Linked DNA regions of Homo sapiens: region 2 is linked to region 1. Evidence: promoter capture Hi-C in 16 types of primary human blood cells and fetal thymus (Javierre and others, 2016). All regions are on one chromosome and are shown on one strand. Each heading gives the region's core, a stretch centred on a gene start or on the middle of the fragment in contact. The rest is flanking DNA. Distances are from core to core; before and after follow the strand shown. Region 1 holds the start of TNFSF10 (TNF superfamily member 10). Region 2 overlaps FNDC3B (fibronectin type III domain containing 3B).

Region 1 (3,158 bases), core at 423-2,922:
AATGTCTAAAACTTTTAGTAGGAAAAATGCTACCTTGCCAATTTGTCTGTGTCTGAAAGGAATTTGCATTTAAAAATTTGGCAATTTGACAGAGGCAAATTTAAAATTTGAAAATATTTTCTTAAATATAGACTCATTTACAGATAGAAGGCAAGGGCAGGAAGTGATGGTGACCAGCGGTGCCTGAATGAACTCAGGAATGTAACTGTAGATCTAGGGTCCCAAACTTTAGGTTTCAAAGGATCTCTTGGAGTACTTGCTGAAAAATGTAGGTTCCTAAGTCCACTGCCAGAAACTCTGACTCAGTGGGTCAAGAATGGAATAACTAAACAATGGCCCCATGCAGTGGTTCATGCCTGTAATCCCAGCACGTTGGGAGGTTGAAGCAAGAGGATCACTTGAGGTCAGGAGTTCGAGACCAGCCTGGCCTACATGGTAAAACCCCATCTCTACTAAAAATACAAAAAAATTAGCTGGGCATGGTGGCATGCACCTGTAATCCCAGCTACTTGGGAGGCTGAGGCAGGAGAATTGCTTGAATCTGGGAGGTGGAGGTTGTAGTGGGCCGAGATTGTGCCATTGCACCACTGCACTCCAGCCTGGGCGATAAAGTGAGATTCTGTCAAAAAAATAAATAAATACATGAAAGAGAGAAAGAAAGAAAGAAAGAAAGAAAGAAAGAAAGAAAGAAAGAAAGAAAGAAAGAAGGAAAGAAGGAAAGAATAGAAAAGAAAAGAAAGAAAGAAAGAAAGGAAGAAAAGGAAAGAAAGAAATGCTGAATAAGATATAGAGACAACATACAGCTGGGCCAGCTTATGACATCTGATAGTGGGGAGATTTGGGGCTGGGTCCTGAATCTGAGGGTAATTAACTCCCTGTAACTTCTTTTCCTAATCTGTAAAAGGATAGTGACAGCGAGACATTGTGATGGGGTTAATATTTTGGAAAACATCCACATGTTTTTTTCCTTTGCCTTTCTGAGTGTGTCAACTACTTCCTACCTGTCCAGCCTAACACACAGGCATGTTGTCTTGGTAGGGATGGAGATCTGAGAAGGAGATTAGAATTTGTGTCTGAAGGTTTGCAAAGAGGAAGAAGTCGTCAATATTTAGATTCTGACATTCAAGATGGAATTATGTAGCAAGACCATTGCTATGAGACAGTATTTCTATTTTCCTTTATCCACTCCCACCCTGCCCTCTTCCCACCCTCACAGTAGCATGAGAAAAACCACATATGGAAGTTTCAGGTCATAAAAATTATCTTATAATTTAGAAAACAGGCCTTGTGCCTATGACAGCCAGGCCATGAGGCTTAGAGCTCTGTGGTAGAATGAGGATATGTTAGGGAAAAGCAAAGAAAATCCCTCCCCTCTTTGGCTGAGGACATTATCAAAAGGAGAGCAAGAAAGAGAAGAGAGAAATGGGCTTGAGGTGAGTGCAGATAAGGGGTGCATGGATCCTGAGGGCAAGGAGAGGAGCTTCTTTCAGTTTCCCTCCTTTCCAACGACTACTTTGAGACAAGAGCTGTCCCTGGGCAGTAGGAAAGGGGAGGGACAGTTGCAGGTTCAATAGATGTGGGTGGGGCCAAGGCCACAGAACCCAGAAAAACAACTCATTCGCTTTCATTTCCTCACTGACTATAAAAGAATAGAGAAGGAAGGGCTTCAGTGACCGGCTGCCTGGCTGACTTACAGCAGTCAGACTCTGACAGGATCATGGCTATGATGGAGGTCCAGGGGGGACCCAGCCTGGGACAGACCTGCGTGCTGATCGTGATCTTCACAGTGCTCCTGCAGTCTCTCTGTGTGGCTGTAACTTACGTGTACTTTACCAACGAGCTGAAGCAGGTCAGTGCAGTGCAGTGCACTCAGTCTTCGAGGCGCTTAGCAAATGTCTGGTTACCTGCTTCTTTGCATGTCAGCTTGCCCCTCTCTGAAGACTTTCCTGCTTCCTTTCTCTGTGGGTACACTCTAACTGCTAAATCACATAACAACTGAGGTCTTTGCAAAACTGTAAGTTCAAGAAATTGTGTAAACTAAGTGCAGTTACACAACTGGCTTCACTAGTTACTAGCAGATGTGGGCAACAAAACTCCTGAGGGATTTTTTGTTTTTAAAAGTATGTGTATTTTATAATATCAGCCATTGCAACTCTTCATGAAAGCTTTCTGCTAAATGCTTTGTAGTTCTTTTGTTTTCCTTTTCCAAACTTTTATTTGTGCACATTCAATTGAAAAAGATAATTTTTACAGGTTCTTTGGTGCCCATTTTCAGCATACAAAAATGTAAAAGACTATTCACAGATAAAACACATTAGCTCAAAATGGAAAAAAATAACAATGACAACAATAAAACAACCTAAGGTAGTGCACACTGTGACAGCTCTGCTTATGGGGACATGAGAATTCCTGCGAAAATAAATAGAATGTCCTTTTGTAAAAGCAGCAATGACATGTCTTGTAAACTTCCTTTTTTATATTATAACAAGGTTTGGAATAAAATCCAAAGGGACTGGAGCTTACACTGTAGCCATGAATAAATAAAAGAGTCTATTTCCTCAATTACCGTTGGTTCAGTTTTCCTTTTGAGTCCAATGTGCAGCAGGTTTTAAAAGGTGCACAGTAAGAGATTCTAACCAATTAAGTGGTGAATGATAAAATTTCTTTCCTGCTTTCAAACACAAATGGGTAAATCTGTTCCACAGCAGTAGCAACAGCCTTTAAATAGGGCCTTGTTACTGTGATACTTCCTGTCGAAAAAATCTGTAATGTAGCTCTTAGAGTCTTTATCCAATAGCACACAGCAGGATGAAGTTCAGATTCATAACTCACATGAGGTCTATTGCTCTTTGTGAATTCTGGCAAACAGATTTCTTTATTTTTAAATTTTTTTATTTTACTTTAAGTTCTGGGATACGTGTACAGAACGTGCAGGTTTGTTACATAGGTATACATGTGCCATGGTGGTTTGCTGCACCCATCAACCCATCATCTAGGTTGTAAGCCCCACAGGCATTAGGATTTGTTCTAATGCTCTCCCTCCCCTAGCCTCCCACCCCCGACAGGCCCCAGTGTGTGTGTTGCCCTCCCTGTGTCCATGTGCTCTCACTGTTCAACTCCCACTTATGAGTGAGAACATGCAGTGTTTGGTTTTCTGT
Region 2 (2,949 bases), core at 245-2,744, 460 kb after region 1:
GCTATCTTATTTTAGGGAACTGTGGAACATTTGAAGAAAAATGGGGAAAATACAAAAAAATCAAGACTTGCTTCAAAAGTATATAACGAAAAAATGTATTTAACAAGGAAGATAGGGAGAAAAGATACGTGTAAAGAAAGGACAGCAATGGATCATTCAAAAGAGAAATCTTAAAATCTATGAGAGCAAGATATGGTTTTGTAGCATTAGATCATACACCAATTTCACTTCCTTCAAAGGCATCACCAAAAAAAGTAATGCTTTAAAGAGAGACACTATTTTTTTTTCTGACTCTGCCTACATTCACTTAATTCTTCATTCTCCTCTCATTTTGACCTAAGTTATTCACTTAAGATTAACTTTTTCTCAGTGATATACGGGCTTCAGGAAATAACTAATAGAAGTCAAAATGAGAAGAGGATGGATGGATGGGTGGATGGATGGATAGATGGATGGAGAATGACTTAACAGTTTGGCAGAGTCAAAAAAAAAAGTACTTAGAAATACCATATATAATATCAGCTCTGCTCAAATTGCAAAATGCCAATCATAATACTTATACAATAATCAAACAATGATAAAGAGAAAATCCCACTTTCAAGAAGGAGAAAAGTGGCCAGGCGCGGTGGCTCACGCCTGTAATCGCAGCACTTTGGGAGGTCAAGACAGGTAGCTTGGCTAACACAGTGAAACCCCATCTCTACTAAAAATCCAAAAAATTAGCCAGGCGTGGTAGCACACATCTGTCATCCCAGCTACTCGGGAGGCTGAGGCAGGAGAATCACTTGAACCTGCGAGGCGGAGGTTGCAATGAGCTGAGATCATGCCCCTGCACTCCAGCCTGGGTGACGGAGAGAGACTCCATCTCAAAAAAAAAAAAAAGAAGGAGGAGAAAAGTAGCAGAAATTGGGGTACTAGGGACCAATAACAGACAGGGGCAGGAAGAAAGGAGGCAAATTCCCAACCCTAGAAAAGGAAAAGAATAAATTTGTATATAGCCTGCAAGGGGGCTGAGGGGTAAGGAGAGAAGGAATGGGGACTGAGCACTTCATGGTCATGCTGGCACTGATCAGCTTCCGGACATGTCCTTTATTGCATGTATAAAAAAACTATTAAGGAAGAAGTGAAACTGCACAAACTTAACCTCAGCACCAGCATGATTACCTCACGTAACTTCTTTTCTTAGTATCCCTAAACAGAAAGTCATTCAGATAAATAAGTTTATGGTTTTTGATAAGTGTCCCCTAGTAACCTGGTTTATGCATCATGCATTAGTTTGTGGAACTGAAAGGTTAATGCTGGAAAAAAAGATCAGAGATCTCTTTGGTTCTTTGCCCCGACTTAGTTAAGATTGTGTAACTTGTGCAAATATAACCATTTCCTGTCCGCTGAACAAAGCAATTAGTGGACTGGGTACAGTTTCTGAGACAATTTAAGGGAAGAAATCAATCTGGCCATGTCTCACTGTAGTTCATTTTAAAGAAAGAAACAAAAGAGACAGGAAAATATAGAATATCACTATTTTGTTGAATAGAAGTCATTCTTGCTTTATATAACCTTCTTCCCCCACAGATTGTACATGACACATTAGGAAAAGAATCTGCTTCAAAACGGCTTGCAAAGAATATATCTAACACCCATAACTTCAATTTACTATTAAAAAGTAGGCTGGGTGTGGTGGCTCATGCCTGTAATCCCAGCACTTTGGGAGGCCGAGGCGGGAGGATCACGAGGTCAGGAGATCGAGACCATCCTGGCTAACACGGTGAAACCCTGTCTCTACTAAACATAAAAAAAAATAGCCGGGCTTGGTGGCGGGCACCTGTAATCCCAGCTACTCGGGAGGCTGAGGCAGGAGAATGGTGCGAACCCGGGAGGCGGAGCTTGCAGTGAACCGAGATCACGCCACTGCACTCTAGCCTGGGTGACAGAGCGAGACTCCATCTCAAAAAAAAAAAAAAAAAGTAATGTGCAGACCAGGCCGTTTTAAAAGAAAAAATTGGTATCACTTCATGAGTTTAGAATAAGCATCCATTATTCATATAGGATGGGCTCTGCAAAAAGAAATATCAGGGAAGGAAGAGCAAAGAAAAGATGAAATGCAACCTGTGCTTCCAGTGACTTCCCAGGGCTGGTTCCAGGAGCTCAGGAGGTATAGAAACACTGCCTTCATTTTCCTCAAACCTTTATTGCTTAAACTAGCTTAAGTGGGTTTCTGTTATCTGCAATGCAATAATTATTGACTGAACAAGAAAAACCTTTCTATCTTCACATAATTTGAAGTATCTCAGTTATTCCTCTTGATTGAAAGTTCCATATGCCTCCAATAGTAAGAATTATAATTAGAACATGTCTTTAAAATTAAAATCAAACATAAGTTTTCACCTGGTTCAAACACATGGCATCTCAGTGTCAAAACAACATGTCCTGCTCCATCATTAAATCATTCATTCAATAAACACTTGCTGAGCAGTCTGTTTGCCAGTCTCTGTATATAAGAGAAGAGGAAAGTGTCGGTCTCTGCCTTCAAGGAATTTAGATTTTAGTGGGAAAGTCAAACAGAGGAATTAGACATCTCCCTGCTTCTTCTCTTGCCGCATCTTTACAGCTACACTCAAATAAATACTACTACTGATTGAACTGATGGCTCCCTAAACTTCAGGTACCAGTTCATGCAATCTATCTGTTCCTACAATCTTCTAGGTCTTCTAAAGGGCAAATGAGAAGTGTGGAGGGGGCCTTTAGGGTTTTCTCTCACCATGGTAAGTAATCAGTCTCATGGCCTAGGGAAGACAGAGAAAAGCCTGGTGTGGGGCCAACTCATAAATGTGTCTTACCCTCTGCCCACCACCACCACTACACTCTCACCTGAGGGAACACACCACTACCACCCCCCACCCTAGCAACAGGACTGACTGACATCTAAAAGAATCTAGACTTTTAAATTAA

Evidence for each region. The method cuts DNA at HindIII sites, captures the fragments that hold promoters and counts their contacts. A CHiCAGO score of 5 or more calls a contact.
Region 2: a fragment that was not itself captured here is called in contact with the fragment with the promoter of TNFSF10 in region 1 in 1 of 17 cell types (total B cells); the score reaches 5.2 in total B cells.

Annotation. Positions count from the first base shown.
Region 1 is chr3:172,521,944-172,525,101 of GRCh38, reverse strand. TNFSF10 (TNF superfamily member 10) reads left to right here and starts at 1,672. Exons shown (of 5, transcript NM_003810.4): 1 at 1,672-1,849. The coding sequence starts at 1,718. It also overlaps the pseudogene TBPL1P1. RefSeq lists an enhancer at 1,691-1,740. The HindIII fragment of the contact is 8,260 bases long and covers 1-2,167 here.
Region 2 is chr3:172,060,249-172,063,197 of GRCh38, reverse strand. The region is part of intron 1 of FNDC3B (fibronectin type III domain containing 3B); the gene reads right to left. Among named protein-coding and RNA genes, the nearest start is that of FNDC3B, 22 kb to the right of the region's middle. The HindIII fragment of the contact is 4,567 bases long and covers 1-2,949 here.